Linked DNA regions of Homo sapiens: regions 2, 3 and 4 are each linked to region 1. Evidence: promoter capture Hi-C in 16 types of primary human blood cells and fetal thymus (Javierre and others, 2016). All regions are on one chromosome and are shown on one strand. Each heading gives the region's core, a stretch centred on a gene start or on the middle of the fragment in contact. The rest is flanking DNA. Distances are from core to core; before and after follow the strand shown. Region 1 holds the start of GTF2E2 (general transcription factor IIE subunit 2). Region 2 holds the start of PPP2R2A (protein phosphatase 2 regulatory subunit Balpha). Region 3 overlaps BNIP3L (BCL2 interacting protein 3 like). Region 4 holds the start of TRIM35 (tripartite motif containing 35).

Evidence for each region. The method cuts DNA at HindIII sites, captures the fragments that hold promoters and counts their contacts. A CHiCAGO score of 5 or more calls a contact.
Region 2: the fragment with the promoter of PPP2R2A here is called in contact with the fragment with the promoter of GTF2E2 in region 1 in 2 of 17 cell types (activated CD4 T cells and total B cells); the score reaches 5.5 in activated CD4 T cells.
Region 3: a fragment that was not itself captured here is called in contact with the fragment with the promoter of GTF2E2 in region 1 in 1 of 17 cell types (total CD8 T cells); the score reaches 5.1 in total CD8 T cells.
Region 4: the fragment with the promoter of TRIM35 here is called in contact with the fragment with the promoter of GTF2E2 in region 1 in 1 of 17 cell types (activated CD4 T cells); the score reaches 5.3 in activated CD4 T cells.

Annotation. Positions count from the first base shown.
Region 1 is chr8:30,656,197-30,660,578 of GRCh38, forward strand. It overlaps GTF2E2 (general transcription factor IIE subunit 2), which reads right to left and starts at 2,040. Exons shown (of 8, transcript NM_002095.6): 1 at 1,777-2,040. RefSeq lists enhancers at 569-1,240, 1,912-2,583 and silencers at 1,625-1,714, 1,725-2,134. The HindIII fragment of the contact is 11,766 bases long and covers 916-4,382 here.
Region 2 is chr8:26,288,909-26,293,290 of GRCh38, forward strand. It overlaps PPP2R2A (protein phosphatase 2 regulatory subunit Balpha), which reads left to right and starts at 2,600. Exons shown (of 10, transcript NM_002717.4): 1 at 2,600-2,918. The coding sequence starts at 2,912. RefSeq lists a silencer at 2,402-2,751. The HindIII fragment of the contact is 3,300 bases long and covers 388-3,687 here.
Region 3 is chr8:26,385,629-26,390,010 of GRCh38, forward strand. All of the region lies in intron 1 of BNIP3L (BCL2 interacting protein 3 like), which reads left to right. Among named protein-coding and RNA genes, the nearest start is that of BNIP3L, 4.8 kb to the left of the region's middle. RefSeq lists a silencer at 1-219. The HindIII fragment of the contact is 1,152 bases long and covers 1,782-2,933 here.
Region 4 is chr8:27,308,978-27,313,359 of GRCh38, forward strand. It overlaps TRIM35 (tripartite motif containing 35), which reads right to left and starts at 2,295. Exons shown (of 6, transcript NM_171982.5): 1 at 1,824-2,295. The coding sequence starts at 2,258. It also overlaps a transcript of PTK2B not described here. RefSeq lists enhancers at 1,264-1,373, 1,774-1,993, 2,004-2,153 and a silencer at 2,304-2,513. The HindIII fragment of the contact is 14,003 bases long and covers 1-4,382 here.

The sequences.
Region 1 (4,382 bases), core at 790-3,289:
GAAAGCTGTCCACATCCAGCCCAATTGTAAGAATGAGAAAATGTGTATGTTATTTTTTAAACAGTAAAGTCATAAAAACGTGTTATTTCAGTATTACTATTTTGAGTTGGATCTGAAAGAAGGGAATGATTTACCGGGCTGAGGAAAGTAGGAGACAGCCTTGGGAGGAGGGAAAGCGTGGGGCCAAGAAGAAGAAAGGAGAATTGTCAAGTGAGAAGGTGGGAGCAAAAAGTAAATTTCTAGAACAGGAAACATTTGTGTCTTATTTCACGTTGCAAAGGCAGGACCTCAATCTGGACTTTAAAAAAATTACTCTAAAAGATTTAAATAGGCCGGGCGCAGCGGCTCACGCCTGTAATCCCAGCACTTTGGGAGGCCGAGGAGGGCGGATCACGAGGTCAGGAGTTCTAGACGAGTCTGGCCAACATGGTGAAACTCCGTCTCCATTAAAAATTTAAAAAATGTGCAGGGTGTCGTTGCGGGTGCCTGTAATCCCAACTACTTGGGAGGCTGAGGCAGGAGAATCGCTTGAACCAGGGACGTGGAGCTTGCAGTAAGCCAAGATCGCGCCACTGCACTCCAGCCCGGGCGACAGTGCGAGACTCCGTCTCAGAAAAAAAAAAAAAAAAAAGTAAATAAAGCCGTACAGTTTACAACAAACTAAATGCTTACAGTATTTGACCCTCGCAACTCTAGGAGCAAACAGGTATTAGTGTTATTCCTATTTTAATACGTGAAATCTGAAGTGAAGCTGTCTGGTTAAGGTCGCACAGATGGAAGAGCCAGGGCCAGGAACCAAACCTCCTGACTCCTAACTCAAGTGCTCCTTACACCAGACCTGGAACGCTGGTAAAGGCCTTTAAAACAAAGGCCACCTGTGAGGTTCGGGAACGTTCAAAGGCATCTAGAGCAGAAAGCTTCGCAATGTCTGTCTTTCACCATCACGTGCTCCGCCTAACTTTTCCTCCTTTTTCAAAGACTACCCAATATGTGTACTAAGTTTTAGATCTCTGGACCCCCCTATGGAGTAAACAGGCTACATCACCATGTCCATTTTACAATTAAACAAAACCACAACTCAAGGAGTTGGCTGGTTCCTCCGTGGGCAGACACGGAAAACCCAAAAATTAAACTGAAATCTGCCTCCAAGCCCACGATTCTTGCCACCATTCGACCTCTTTCAACCTTACTACTTCCCCTCTCTTTCACTTTTACCCAGCCTCGTTAGTGTCCCTGGCACCTCAGGACCCGGCTATGAAAAGCAGGCTGCTTCGCCCTTAAATGACGGAAGTGGGGAGGTGGGCGAAAAGGGGGCCGCAGCGTTGTTTAGACTGCAGAAATCAACTACTATCGTTAAAGTTTAGGGATCATCACAAACCAAATCTCCAAAAGGTAGCCTAGAAAGCAGTCCGCGTATGAGCATCATTTTAAATCACAGTCTTGAGCTGGCTGGACCCCGCGGCTGCTCAAACTCCACACACGGTTCGCTTGGCTACCGCGCCCGTGAACTTGGAGGCTTGGAAGAGGCACAGTCAGGCGGCAGACCGCGAATTTTCCCTCTTTCCAACCCAAAAGTTTGCTCAATGAACCTCTGGCCTAAAGACAATGCTCCGGGGAACGGTTCGCGTGCTGGGTGTTTCGCTTCGAGAACGGCGGTCCCAGCTTCCCGTGAGGTGGAGGTCACGCTCAGCCTCCCGGGAGGCGGCGGCGCGCCTGCGTCCCAGGGAACAGCAAGCCGGGGCTCTGCGCCCCACACCCGGCGGCCGCAGCCCCTACCTGAGTGAGAAGGGCAGCCTCGCACGACTCGCCGCCCCCTTCCTGCGCCTCCGCCTCGGCCGGCCGCCCACGCCGGCACTGCACCCTCTTCCTGCTTCTCGTCAGCGCCCCCGCCTGCCCGCACGCACGCCCAGCGCTGACCCGCCAGGTCGGGGTCTCACCACTGGCGGTGGCGGCGGCGGCGGCGGCAGCGGCGGTAGCTGAGGCGGCGACTGGACCCGGGACTCCGCCCGCCACTTCCCGATCGGGTGCTAGGAGCTCAGTCCCGGCAGCCACCGCGGCGCCAGGGCAGCCAAGCGAGCGCATGCGTCATTGCGTGCCCCGCCTCTGGTGCCGCGGGAGCGGAACTATCCCGCTCTGGCGTCCTGGGGCCTCCATGACAACGAGGGAAGGGCTGGGGTGGGGCCGAGAAGGGGACTGAAGTGGGAGGCGGCGCCACTGAAGATGGAAGGCAGCTTTCTTTATAGACACTTTATTAAAACTGCTACAGCCTGCTCCGGCGTGCGCTGGGATGTGGTGAACCCAGCCGACGACGCTATCTTTCAATGGTTACTTTGTGTTTTTTGTCTTTTTCTTATTAGAGACGTGATCTCACTCGGTCACCCAGGCTGGAGGGCAGTGGCGCGATCTCGGCTCACTGCAACCTCCGCTCCTGGGCTCAAGCCATTCTCCCACCTCAGCCTCCGGAGTAGCTGGGATCACAGGCGAGTGCCACCACGACGGACTATTTTTGGTTATTATTGTTGTTGTTGTTTGTATTAATAGGGTCTCACAATGTTGCCCAGGCTGGTCTCGAACTCCTGAATTCAAGCGATTTGCCCGCCTCGTCTTCCCAAAGTGCTGGGATTACAGGCGTGAGCCACCGCGCCCGGCCTCAACGGTTATTTTGTGAGTTTACCCCAGCGCCACACACCAGCACCTGCACACCGAGAACGCGGTTCCAGCTCTTTTACAAGCGAAGAACAGAGGGCCAGGAAGCTAATTAATAAATGACTTGCTCAAGACAACACAGCTAGCAAAGGCAGCCTGATGTGGAGCACAGCCCAGCCTCTTCCCTCCACCCCTGTGAACTGTCTTAGAAAAGGATTTTGGATTTAGAAGCCAGATAAATGGGTGGAAATAAAGCAGTGGAAAAAATAATTTCATTGCCCGAAACCTGCAGCGTGGCAGGCCTTCCCTCACTCTTATAACCTAAAGCGGCAGTACAGCCAGTGCTCAGCCATTCTGTGGCTGTCGTTGAATTACTGGTTACTCTTCAAGTTACTGAAACTGTGGCTCAGTTTTCTCATCGGGGAAATGGGGATAATCATTGTACTACTACAATGAGTTACTTGCATTGGACTGTGGTGAAAATTAAGTGAGAAAATACCTAAAATTTTATTCAAAACTTGGAAAAAAGTCAAAAGATAATATTTTGTGACTTTTATTAGTTTCATTCTAGAGAATTTTGTAATAAGCCTACTTGATCATCTGACACCCACAGGAAATGTAACTTTGTTTGAATAACAATTGATTAGGGCCCAGAAGATTTACAAAAGGATGAAATCAAACATCAATTGGTAGGAAACTGATGAGGTGTTAGGGGAAAAAGGGGCAGGGAATTCAGTGTGTATATAGATAGATAGATAGATAGATAGATAGATAGATAGATAGATAGATAGATAAAATTCCAAAGGTTAAGGTTGCATTTTTCTGAGAAAAATTAACCGGTTTTGTATCAACTGAGCAGTTTTATTTCAGCATTCCTTTCCCCAACGATTATATAAATATCATTTTTCAGAACTGGTAGAAATCCGTTTTATGATTCTGCTGGCTCCCTTATTAATGAGTGAGAGACTTATACATATGGACAATGGCTAAACCGCATATGATAATAACACTCTAACTCACATAAGCCAAACCATAACCTCTACAGCAATCAGCTCAAAATGGTCAGAATTTTCTCAAGAAGGCTGCCAACTTTTCTATTTTAACCTCTCTGTCCTCAGACACCAGTATCAGCCAGAGAAAGCCAAATATTCTTCCCAAACCAATCCTGTTAAGTTTCCTGCTTCAAGTTAGACAACTTCCAGCTTCCCCTGCCAACATCCCTAAATCAGAACACATCAGAAGCATCCCTTTTTTCCTCCACTGTAAAGTCTCCCCTCTTCCCGATTGCTTTTGAGTCTCTGCCAAACTCAAGTGTGGTCGCTGCCCCTATTGCTATAGCAAGCTCTGAATAGTCTCTGTTCTCACTTGGCAGGTCTACATTTCTTGCGTTAAATAAAACTTTGACACATATTCACTATCTCTTCCCTTGAGACTTAGAAATCTAACAATTAGAGAATCTTTACAGAATTAAATCTTTCACAAAGAAGGTGCTCAATAAACGCTTACAGTGAGTAATTTCATGTCAATATCTTGACTCATTTCAGCCAGTTGAAACAGCTAAGCTACTAATAATATCAGAATGTACTATCTATAATCCAGACTCTCAAATCTCAATTGTGTCCCCTTTACCCAGAAGTTAGCTCTTGTTATTAATATCATTGAAACCCTCTCATACAAACCCCAGGAAACCTTATTACATTACAAACTCCTGCTTATACTGCCTGTTGCATGTGTCT
Region 2 (4,382 bases), core at 1,350-3,849, 4.4 Mb before region 1:
GGCCTCCCAAAGTATTGGGATTACAGGCGTGAGCCACCGTGCCTGGCAAAAATGTTTTTTTAAGTGGAAGATAGATATGGAAGTGAGATGGACAAGAGCAACCCTTGACTCTGGGCTAGCGGGTGTTCTGGCCTCTCCTCCTAATGGCCATTCTGATGAAAGGGAGGTGGCTTATGGTCCTCTGAAAGGGCTGACCAGGGCCCAAAAAGAGCCAGGTCGTTTACACCAGGGTGCCAGGGTGCACTGGCCCTTGATTATCAGACCCAAGTCAGCCCATTCCACAGGCATGCAGTACCCCCAAGGCTCCAAATAATGTTCTTAAAACAGCACCTGGCACAAAGTCGGTGCTATATACATTTTTGTTATAATTATCCCAGTTTCTAGGCAAGCTTTATTGGCTTCTAAGAACAAATCATTTATGTAAACCAAATCATTTTCAGGGTATGTAAAGTCTATATTCTCTTTTTCTGTCTTCCTTTCTCTCTCTCTCCTTCCTTCTGGGTTCTGGTTAAGATGGAGAGCTCTCCCTGGAGAGTCTGGGATTGAACCACCAAAGAAGGGCAGAGCAAGCAAAAAGGAAAATAAATGAAGGCATACCCAGAGAAATACATTTATGAAAAACACCAGCATTGAAGAAAATACAGCACGCAGTGCACTGAAGTTTTGTACCTGTTGTACAGGTAGCCAAAAGATGACACATAGAGGGTGGATTTTTAGTTTTGATTAATTCATTGGTAACGTGGGAAATATTCATGCAGAAACAGAGGAATGATCATGCAGTGGTGCAGTTGTTCCTTTGAAGGAATTTTGAACGTTGCATTACAGTTCAACTGTCCTGGAAATCAAAAATATGGTAGAAAGTGGAGATGGTGGGGAGGACGTGTAAATATCTTTAACTCCCCCTTCTTGGTTTCCAAACGCCTTTATCACTCCATTCAGCCTTAGGCCAAATTCTGGATGCTTTTACAGGTGTTTTTCACGTGTAAAATGTGCATATCTATCTCCTAGGAGTATCGTGGAGATGGAATGGGATATGTAAAGTGTGCTGTATATAGCAACTGCATCATTAGAGCATCTTTCAACAGAAGTGCACATCCCCTCATAGCTGATGACTGGCATTTCCTGTTCATTTTTTTCCTTCTACCTCTTAACCTTACTGACGATGCTTTCAATACAAATCTAATAATAACGGCAGCTAACATTTATCATGTGCTCAAATTAAGTCATTTCATCTCCCCAACAATCCTATCAGGTAGGACTGTCATCTTCATCTCCTGAGCCTTGGAATCATATTAGGCAGCCTGGCTTCAGAGCCCAGCACTTTTTGTGTTTTTGTTTTTGTTTTGACAGGATCGCATTCTGTCTCCCAGGCTGGAGTGCAGTGATGTGATCACATAGCTCACTGCAGCCTTGACCTACTGGGCTCAAGCAGTCCTCCTACTGCAGCCTTCTAGTAGCTGGGACTATAGGCACGCCATCATACCTGGCTAATTTAAAAAAAAAAATTTTTTTTGGAGAGATGGGTCTCCCTATGTTCTCCAGGCCGAACTCGGAACTCCTGGCCTCAAGCGATCCTCCCACCTCGGCTTCCCAAAGTGCTGGGACTACAGGCGTGAGCCACCGCGCCCGGCCCTGAGCCCAGCTCTTAAGCACGCAGTCCAACACGTTTAGCTGGAGAGACGCCGGGTCACTTCTTGGGCCATACCCTCTCATCACAAACTCAGGTTTCTCTTAGAAATCACTCTTAGTGTCCGCAGTGCCTAGGACTCCCGCCTTGGATCCTGGGGCCCACGAGAAGGTAATTTAATTCACCCAGATAGAACCAGCCCAATCGTGTCCCTCTGAACCCCGTGAACTTTCACCCCGGCTGAGCAGTAAGTCTGCACCGCTGTCCCTTTCTTTGTGGTCTCAGGGCTAATCCAAAGTGACAATTTCCTAAGAAGCAGTACGGGGTTTTTTGTTTGTTTGTTTTTTGTTTTTGAGACGGAGTCTTGCTCTGTCACCCAGGCTGGAGTGCAGTGGTGCGATCTCGGCTCACTGCAACCTCTGCCTCCCGGGTTCAAGCAATTCTCACACCTCAGCCTCCCAAGTAGCTAGGATTACAGGCGCACACCACCACGCCTGGCTAATTTTTGTATATTTTTAAGTAGAGACGGGGTTTCACCATGTTGGCCAGGCTGGTCTCGAACTCCTGACCTTGTGATCCGCCCGCCTCAGCCTCCCAAAGTGCTGGGATTACAGGCATGAGCCACCGTGCCCGGCCCAGGTATTCCTAGAAGACATAGGACCCCATGAATCCTTGCAGGAGAGCACGTAAACTGGACTCCTAAGCCCGCCCCAGAGCCCCGGCGCTAGTGCTCGAGGCTGGGACACTGCTAGGTGCACACAGCCGCGGCCTGGCGCAGGCGGTGCGGACAGAGGGTATGCCATGGCGAGACGCTGGCGCGGCGCAGGCCCTGCCGGCCGGGACACGGAGGGCGGGGCACAGGCGCAGCAGGAAGGGGGCGTGGCCAAGAGCCGCCCGGCCGCTCCCCCGCCCCTCCCCCTCCGCTCTCCGCCCCAGCCCGGCGGCTCCGCCCCCTAGGTGACGTCACTGGCCAGGCCAGCCGGCGCCATTTTGAAAGTGGAGTCGCCTGCCCCTGCCGCTGCCGCCGCCGCCGTCGCTGTCGTAGTCGCCGCCGCCGCTGCCGGAGAAAGAGCACGAGCGGGGAAGCCCCAGAGTGAAATCTAGCATCCTGCCGGCTGGTCTGCCCGCCCCTCCTTCCTTTTCCCCCCGGCCCCCGTCCCCTCCCCCCGCAGGTGCCATCCGCCGCCATCCGCCCTCTCTACCCCCCCATCCCCAGGTGAGGGGGGTGAGTTCAGGAAGCGGAGACCCCGAGGAACCCAGCAGGGTCACCATTTGCAGCGCAACATGGCAGGTAAAGGAGAAATCCCCCTCGCCCCCTGACAAGGCACCGCTTCCTTATTCCTCCCTCCATCACCCCCTAGCGACCGCCCGCGCCTCGCGCAGAGCCACAGGGCGCCCCTCGGGTTTGAGGGAGTAGGGTCCAGAGGGGTGGGGTGGGGGCGGGGAGGGCTCCCGGGAGGCAAGTGGTCACGGTGAGAGTCACTGGGCTTGGAGAACGGGGCTGGCGCCGTGGCGGGGGTGGGGGTGGGGTGTGCCGGCGAGCTTGGGGTGAGGCGTGGGTGGGGCGGGGTGGGGGTGCGTGCAGATTTGTCCCTCCCGCTCGGGAGCCTGGTGGATCTTCTCCCACCTCCCCACCTTGCCCCCCGCCTTTATTTTTTTTTCCTGCAGGTCTTCATTTAATTTCTATTTTTCCCCCTGCTGCAAGCCTTCTTGGGTGTATATACACATTTATTTTGCCTCGAGAAGGAAGAGCGCCTTATAAGTTAAAATACAGTGGGGGCATATGTGTATTTTTTCCCCACTGTAGATGCCAATATTTTTGAGACTGGAAGCCTAAATTTTTTGTTTCGAACCATTTCGTTTCCGTTTCTTCCCTTTTACCGCCGAAGAGTGCAAGGCCTTTCATGTACAGCAAGTTGCATGAAAATAATTTAAACTTTGCGTTTAGCATGTTAGCTTTTTTGCAGATGTCCTTTTCCCAAAAGGGTTTGGTAGAGTTAGTTAAAATAGTTGCGGAGTTCAGAGATATAAATAGCAAGGAGGAGAGAGATTTAGGTAGAAGCTTTGAAGGGGAGGGGAAAGGATGTAGAGAGAAAACCAGTTTGGAAATAAATTTAGCAAGGAATAGGGGTGATGGGGGAGAGAGAAGTAATGTAATTGCTTTGAGAATTCTTTTTGTACATGTTGGTATTGCTAAATCTTTTCCTTCATGTAGTAGAATCAGTTGCAGATTTAGATTCAGTTTCTTTCTCCCTAGAGCCCCAGGACATTTTCAATCATTTCGACCTCAGTACTTGCACGTGAAATAGAAACATTCCGAGATGAGACCAGTTTTCCGTGCTGTATTCATTATTTAGATAATTAAACCTTTTGAAAAAGTTAACATGTCGGATTGACTTACGGTTTGCTATAAACAAGTTGCTTGTTGGCCTTGTTGAAAAATGAAATGAGATTAAAATTGTTTTGCACGAGATGACATTAGCAAAATGAATTCTTTGCCAGGTCCTTTGGAGTCAAGGGATGAGGTGAAGGGAGGCAGAACAAGCTTCCTTTGACAGTCTCTTTAGCAGCATTCATTTCGGTTTCTTTTCCTCTCTGTCTGGAGCCAGTGATTTGCTGGTAATGAATGCAAAGAAATGGGTGTAGTGTTTGCTGTGTGTGCACTTTGGTGATAAGGTTCATATGAATCATTACTCCTTACCCAGGCAGTAATGTTCCCGAAGTTTTCTCTTCGTTCTATGTTTCATGGTAGTTT
Region 3 (4,382 bases), core at 1,108-3,607, 4.3 Mb before region 1:
GCTGAGCCATATGTCATTGTTTATCTTGGTGTCTGACAGACCTATGAGGAGTTTGATGTCTTTGGCCAGTCGGTTCCTGCTTGGCTGACATCAGCTCTTACAGAGGTGGAAGTACACTCAGCCTGCATGGGACATCAAAATGTTGCTTTGGGACATCTGCTAGATAGAAAGTATTTTGTGTGGGATAGGGTGAGCTTTCTGAAAAGCTTTTAGATATTGCCATATTTAATTACTCCCTTCTTGCCTCTCACTCTGTTCGTTTTTTTAGCTCATTACACAACACTGTACTGAACAAAACAAGAAGCCTCATTGAATTCCTTGAAGTGATTTTTGGGCAATGGGCAAAACAACTTATTCAGGCATCTAGTACTATCCAAATTGCTGATAAGTCGAAGGACTTTGTTGGGTAAAGTTGCACAACTGAAAAACAGGAGAAGAAATGTACAGATTATCTTGCGTTTGGGATTTTATCTTTGGTTCAGGGGTCAAAGCAGGGTTTCAATAGCAAATTACTGAAGTATTTGAATAGTGAAGTATTTTTGTGATTTTTTTTTAACTTTACCGCTGTGGAGAGACTGTTCACTTTCATTAAAAATTACAGGGCAAATACCCAAACTCCTTCCAAGTCAAAAGGATGTTGTCCAGTTTGTTTTATTGTTAAGAAAACTATCAACTTCCTTAAGAATGTTTGAATAAGATTCAATAGGGCCGAATAAGGAAAATCAAAGTAGTAGTGTAAATCGTAGTATAATTCTTGTTGTTGAGAAGTATAGCCTTTTTTTTCTTTTCAAATTTTCTTGTTCTTTTTTGTTTTTTGTTTTGTTGAGACAGGGTCTTGCTTTGTCACCCAAACTGGAGTGCAGTGGTACAGTCATAGCTCATGGCAGCTTAGACCTCCTGGGCTCAAGTGATCCTCCTGCCTCAGCCTCCCAAGTAGCTAGGACTGCAGGTGTGCACCCCCACATCCAGCTAATTATTTTATTTCTTGTAGAGTTCGAGTTTCACTTTGTCACCCAGGCTGGTCACCGGCTAACTTATTTTTTGTAGAGATGGAGTTTTGCTTTGTTGCCCAAGCTGGTCACAAACTCTTTTTTTTAAATAGAAACATCTTCAAGCACAATGTCCTTGCTTTCTTGTTATGAAGAGTGCTCTTAAGGCCTTCATGGATTGTCACTGCCTCATAATAATGTTTTGAATACCTACGTAACTTGTATGTAAATACATACTGCTGCAAAAAGACCAACTTTTCAAAAATTTATTTATTTATTTTTTTATTTAAGAAGAATGCCAGTAACTCTTGTTGGCCTGGTCTGGATTTCAGCATCAGGTTGGCCTGGTCTGGATTCCTTTCAATAATGAATGAAAAGCTTTGAGGAAAGAATGTAAATATAATGAAATTTCAAAAGAGTTACATGTGGGCCTTGAAAAGTTAGGGGGAAAGATGAGGAGAAATACTCTTCATTCTCTCCTCCCCTTGTCCCAAAGCTCCTCTCTTCTTCTTCTTGCAAGAGGATTGAACTAGTGATTATAAAACTGTAAAGATTATACAACATACGGCAATGAGTATAATCACAATTATTGGACCACCCTTCACAGTCTATTATGTTAGAGAACGGAGAAGCATTCACAGAAGTTTCTCTGAATCTCTTAGTCATTCCCAAAAACCCAAACCAGAAAATATCTCATGTCATTGTATGTTATGTACAAATTGGCATAAGGAACAGCTCTTAGTTTGTAAAGTCTTTTAGATAATGGAGAAAGCTTCCAGCTTTTAGTTTTCAAGCTTGATCATTAGGAGGAGAATTCACTCTGTGGTTGTTTTCTACTTTGTGTTGCTTGGACAGCACAAACCTCTTATCTAGCCTTGTTTCCTTTCCAAGTAAAAAGGGACTTTGTGAGGATTGGTAGAGTTAGAACACTAAGAAATTCTGAGGCTGTAAATCAGGAACAAATCGGGTGATGGGAAACAGACGTGTTGTTCATCTATTGAGGAAGACACATTTGCTTTTTTATGTGTTACTCAAAAGATTAATATGTAGCCTCTTAATGCCTGTGTACATAACTTTCTCTGTACCACTATGTATTTCCATAGATGATATTTTTGAAAGAGAATTACCCTTAATTAATTAAAGGAAATCTACACTTTTAAGGCTGTTAATACCTATTGTCAAATTATTCTCCAGAATGTTCACTGAAGCCCTAATTGTAATAACAAAGTATTAGAAACAACCATCTCAGTAGTAGTTAACCATTGCCATTTAGATAATGGTTAAAGTATGGTATATCTTTATAAAAGATGAGATGCAATGCAGTTGTTCAAAAGAATGAATGTCAGTATATATTGATAGGGAAGACATCTGAAAAACGACTTACAGAATATGTCAGTATGTGTGTATGGTACAGTTCCATTTCTTTATAAAAACAAAAGCAAAAACAGACCTATATTTCATTGACAAAAACTCTGCAAGTCTCCATGTGAAACTGTCAAAAGTGGCTCCTTTGGGAGTAGGAACGGGAGGTTGGGAGAGATGTTAATTTTTAATTTTATGTACTGATGTTTACGTTTTCTAGGAACACATTTTTCCAGTAAGGAATGGTTTTTCTATGATATAGAATATAATTGTAGTAGCTAAAACTTTCTTAGGGACCTTTCTTATTGTTCTGCGTGCTATATTCATTTAATCCTCCTAACAAAGTCTTCGAGGTAGATACAGTTATTATCTCTATTTTATAGATGAGAAAACTGAGGCACAAAGAGGTTAAGTACCCTGTGCGAGGGTAACAGCTATAACTGAGAGTGGGAGCCTGGCTTCAGTCTCAGCCCCTGACCACACTATACCAGTGTATCCCAAGTACAAATTGTCCGCCTTAAGTAGAAATGCTTTCAGTTATGATTCAGGGTGTGGAGGCCACAGCAGAGATCACTTTTACTAAGCTTTTCTAGGTATGTCTCTTTCAGGTTCCAAAAGTATATATTGGATTATGATTGCTTATGTGTTTTTAATGAAGAAAATAGGATCCAGACATTGATTTGAAAGTCCTTCAAAAAAGTAAAAACCAGGTTGGGAGCAGTGGCTCATACCTGTAAGCCCAGCACTTTGGGAGGCTGAGGTGGGAGGATTGCTGAAGCCCAGGAGTTTGAGACCAACCTGGGCAATGTAGGGAGACCCTGTCTCTACTAAATAAATAAATAAATAAATAAATAAATAAATAAGTCGGGCATGGTGGCATGTGCCCTGTAGTCCCAGCTTCTTGGGAGGCTGAGGTGGGAGGATTGCTTGGGCCCAGGAATCAAGGCCGCAGTGAGCTGTGATTGTGCCACTGTACTACAGCCTGGGTGACAATGCAAGACTGTCTCAAAAGAAAAACAAAAGTAAGGACCAGAAAACCTGATATTGTTTGTTACACCCTTTTTTCTCTTCGATTGCCTACTTCAAGTGAATATTAATTGTATTTTAGGGAAGACTGACTTCCACAGAGACCTATCTGGAACTCCTGGTTCCTTACCTCTGCTTCTGTCAGAGCAGCTCTGGGTTTTGGTTTGTTACTATTGTACACATTAGGCTTCTATACAAGAAGAACTGGTCCCATTGGTTTAAAAATAAGTTTGAAAATCCTAGAAACAGTGAGAGTCAGAAAAAAAAACTGTTTTTATATACATATTCTCTCCCCCACCCCCTTTCTCTCCAGTTGAAATATGTTGCAGAGCTCTAAATTTAGGGATGCTTTTGGCGTATTTCTTATACACTCCAGAGGCACTCGAGATAAATTATCTTCAATGTTAGATCTCTCTTAGCTTTGCTAGTTGTATTTGTTAATCCATTTTGAGTTCTCTAGCCTGTGTCCATTTTATGTGTGTATAGAATGAGGCCATGGAGATGTTGTACAACTGTGTCGTTTGGCAGCAGAGTCCTAAGGAATTGGTGGTGACTATGGGATGGTGGTAGCCACTGGGGCTGCCTCAAATGGAAAGGAAAGGGTTCTAAGTATTTATAAAAGAAAATTCTAGTGTATAACTGAGCATCTTCTATTTACCAGCACTTGATACTACTAAATCGTCACAGCACCCCGGTGTTATTATTATCTCTGTTTACAAATGAGGAAGCTGAAGCTCAGGTCACACAGGTAGACAGGAAGTGATGGGGTCAGATTCCCAGCTAGGTCTGCCTTGGAGCTTTCCTTCTTGTGAGGGTGATGTTCAGTTCACTCTGGAACTGGTGTAGCCATCGCCACATTTAGAGTGCATTTTAGAGTTTGAGCCAGTTTTGATGATTTTACTTCAACTTACTGATGGAACTCCTTGTTCATCCCTGGAACTCTCTAACACTTCTGCTGGGAGTTTAGAGGGATGGCCACACCAAGCTGCTTGGGTACATTTTCTA
Region 4 (4,382 bases), core at 1,045-3,544, 3.3 Mb before region 1:
ATCTGAAATACCCTCTTTCACCTGGCTAACACCTCCTCTTCCCTCGGGTCTCTGCTGGAAGCTCCTTGAGGCTGGAAATGGTCTATCTTGTCTCCTGCAGTATCCCTGGGACCTTGCAGTACCAGGCATCTGCTGGTGCATGGCTCTCTGCTCTTGAATCCTGGCTTGGCCCCAGCCTGGGGGCTCTGCCTGGGTGTTCTCAGCCCTGACCCCAGCATCTCCTGATCAGCACCTCGGCCAGCCAAATAGGCATCAGTCATGACCTGAACCATGATCCCTCCTTTACCTGGGCCCCAGACCCCTGGCTGGCCAGCACTTATTCCAGCTGTCCCAAATCAGGATCTGTCACTTCTGCCAGTGGAAACAGGAAAAGCATTGACATGGACCCATGTTAAACAAAAAAGATGACAGGAGTAACAGGGTTACTCATTGAGACATGCGTACTGACAGCATCCTTACATTCCCCTTCAATTAAACTTTGTCAAATGCATTTGGAGCGGAACAGACTTCCGTATTTAAAAAGGTATTGCAAAAAAAGAAGGCAGGGCCACAGAGGGGGCCAGAAACCAGGCACAGGGGACTCGGGCAGCTCCTCCTCTCCAGTCCATGCAGCTTCGGGCCAGCTACCCAGTGTTCTCCCAATTGGGGCTCTGACTCATGCATTAGCAGGTGATGAAATAAATTCAATGTTTCACATTCTGGGTAATTTTTAAAAGTAACAGAGGCCAGGCGGAGTGGCTCACGCCTGTAATCCCAGTAGTTTGGGAGGCAGAGGAGGGCAGATCACTTGAGGCCAGGAGTTCCAGACCAGCCTGGCCAACATGGTGAAACCCTGCCTCTACTAGAAATTAAAAAAAAAAAAAAATTAGCCAGGCGTGTTGGTACATGCCTGTAATCTCAGCTACTCGGGAGGCTGAGGCACCAGAATCGCTTGAACCCAGGAGGCGGAGGTTGCAGTGAGCTAAGAGCACGCCACTGCACTCTAACCTGGGCGATAGAGGTCTCAAAAAAAAAAAAAAACAAAGGGAAGTAACAGAAAATATCAGAGTGCCATGGACATGTTCAGAAAACTTTTGTTTCAACTGATACATATGTTCTGGGTCACAAGGGAAAATGCATTGCTTCCTATGGGCTAAGATTAAACGTTTTGGAAAATGCTGAGTTAGGCTAACCCTTATCTTCTATTCATTTTTCCTTCCTATATCAAAGAATTCTCCATGTTAGTTTTGCCCTGTAAGTTGCTCCTGGGTTTATGTATAGTCACTAGAACTCTAGATATGGAGATGCTGCTTTATAAACCAGAATAGGCCAGCCAGCCAGGGTCAGAGACCTCTCACTCAGATAATACAAACCGCGGGATCAGCTTGGCAAGTAGGTGACTGGTTTGGGGGAAATCTTAAGACTCCACACCCCTGGCCAGGTCTGTGGCTCCTCCTCCACTTCTAAATTGAGTGTGCCAAGCTACAGGGCTCGTGGGCTGCACCCACATCCGTGCCGCTTAAAGGGACCTGGGCCACACCCGGCTGGCACAAGGGGTGCATGGCCTGGGCCCTTCAGAAGCAAGTGTCGCTGTCTTGGGAACATCATGTAACCTCATCTGTCACTTTCCGTTCGCATTCTCTTCTCCCAGCACGGGCCCCTGGGCCGACCTTGAAGAAGCAGCCAGCCCTGAGAACCTGGGTCGGAGAGGTGGGGTCCTGCATGCTGGGAGCGAGACGCGGGCACACTGGGCTCTGGCAGGCAGGAGGGGCGGGAGCCGCAGAGCCAAGGGATTCCGGGTTCCAGACCCGGCTCGGCCGCCTCGTGCAAATCGCTGCTCTTACCCGAAAGTCGTGGGCAGTGTCCTTCACCGGCTGCACGCGGTGCCCCTGGTGTCGGGGGTCGGCCTGGCAGGAGCAGCACAGCAGCTCCTTGTCCTCGAGGCAGAAGAGGCTGAGCTGTCCGCGGTGCAGGCGGCAGACACGCGAGAAGCGGTAGCTGGTCCAGCGCGCGCCCTCGGCCTCCTCGCGCAGCAGCTTCTCCACCAGGTTGTTGAGGGTGTGGTTGGTGCGCAGGTCGGCGGGTGACGCGCGGTCTTTGCACACTGGGCAGGTGGGCGACACCTGCACCTCCCAGCAGCGGCTCACGCACCCGCGGCAGAAGTTGTGGCCGCAGCGCAGAGTGACTGCGTCGCGGAAGGGGTCGTAGCAGACGGCGCAGAGCAACTCCTCCTTGAAGGAGCGGGAAGGCCCGGGGGACACGTCGGGACTCCGCTCCATGGCACGAGCAGCCGGCTCGGGCGCCCGGAACTTTTGCTCCGGCCCCTCCCACCCGCCCGGCTGCCAACGCCCGCGACCCGAGTGCTGGGAATCGCCCAGTCCCTTCCCCTGGAACGCTGAGAGACAGCGGCGCTGGCCAATCGTGCGGGGGGGATGGCGAGGGGGAGGGAGGGGGCGCTCGGAGGAGCCCCACCCACTTCCGGTGTGCGCGGGAAATCTTGGGAGAGCGGGGTGGGCCTTCTGCCCGCAGTTCCCGCCTCCTCAGGTCCGGGCGGGTCCCTGGCCGGGGTAGCACGGAAGGGTCTCCCAGGCGGCGTAGTAGGGCTTCCGTGTTACTGGAAACCTACTTCCGGCTGCAAATGGGAAAAGGAGCCTCTACCTTAACCAATCCCCGGGAACCTCAGGCCCGCGGATGGGAGAAACCAGAGATGCCAACTTCCTGCTTCCGAAGTAGTGGCTGGGTCTTAAAGCACCGTGAGTGCAATCACCACTTAAGTTTGCAGCGCCTTTTTGAGGACCTATGCCACTCTTGCATTAGTCGTTTACTTATTTTGGCCAGTCTTCTTCTGGCCCGCCGCGGTAAGGAGAAACAAGAGAGGGGTGGCGGCAGAAGAGCTCCGAGAAAACCTGATTCTTGTCCTGTGGTTGAAAAAGTGAACAGGTCATCATGTTTCAAAGTCCATTTACTCATGAGTACAATGGCTGTAATAGCTCTGTTTCCATGAAGTGTGAGGATAAAGTGAAATAAATGTGGAAAGTGCTCATGACAACCACTGTTTTAATGGGCAAGTGCCCATTAAAACAGTGAAATTGAGGACTTCTGCAAAGTTTAGCTGAGATAACTAGAGTTCATGCTCAATTCTTGCCAGGTACAGTAGGCCTGGATGGTTCCTTCAGATCTTCATTCCTGCTTCAGTTTGATCACTTTACAGCCTCCAGATGCAGAATACTTTTCACACGATGCACTTTCATTCCTTTTCTATTGGGAGACAATTCACATGTGTCATGTTCCTGCATGTCTTGAGAGAGCAGAGGCACTGACTGCCTTTTTCCAACTATCTTTTCAAGGATGTTTCTGCATTGAATAGCCCTGGAAGACAGAATTCTTGTCTCTCCAAAGATCTGGCAGACTTATTCCCAATTATAAGAGATGTGAGTTTCCTAAACTTGGGGCCCCTCTCCTGTAATGCAACCTACTGTAGCCTTCATCACATAGTCTTGCAAGAATTAGGGCTCAGAAACTGGCCCAATGACAATACTGTGACTACTATTATTGCTGTTAGTATTATCCTTTGTCTCTGACCCAGGAGTTTCATCTTTTAGCAGTATTCATGAAATTTTGGCATGCAAACTTGTTAGTGTTGAAACTCAGAAAACAATACCCCAAAATGGCCTCAAAAGCAGAAATTTTTCTCTGCCCTCCTATCTCTCAGTCCCCCAAGGATAGCCATAGAAATTAGAATTCCTTTTCCCCAAGGCAGGTCATAGAAACCAGAACCCCTTTTTCCTAAAGCCAGTCTTGAAACCTTAAAATATTACTCTTTCTCTCTGCCTTTCTGTGGAATAACTGGCCATAAAGAAATTATCTGACCTACCTTGTTTGACTGTAGGCCATAAGAGCCCGATTCCAGAGAGGGTCCTACCCCATACCTGTTAGGGGTAGAAGGTGTCTGAGTTAACAGCAGTGAATCTGTATGGGTCTGCAGCAACCTCAATTCTTGCCTCCTTGGAAGAAAGAATTAGACTGAGGGGCATGATATGGTTTGGCTGTGTCCCCACCCCAAATCTCATCTTGAATTGTAATCCCCATAATTCCCACGTGTCAAGGGAGAGACCAGGTGGAGGTAATTGAATCACAGGGGTGGTTTTCCCCCCATGCTGTTCTCCTGATAGTGAGTGAGTTCTCACGAGATCTGATGGTTTTATAAGTGTTTGGTAATTCCTCCTGTGTTCATTCTCCTTCCTGCAGCCTTGCAAAGGAGGTGTCTTGCTTCACCTTCACCTTCCACTGTGATTGTAAGTTTTCTGAGGCCTCGCCAGCCATGCGGAACTGTGAGTCAATTAAACCTCTTTCCTTTATAAATTACCCAGTCAGTCTAAGGCAGTTCTTTATAGCAATGTGAA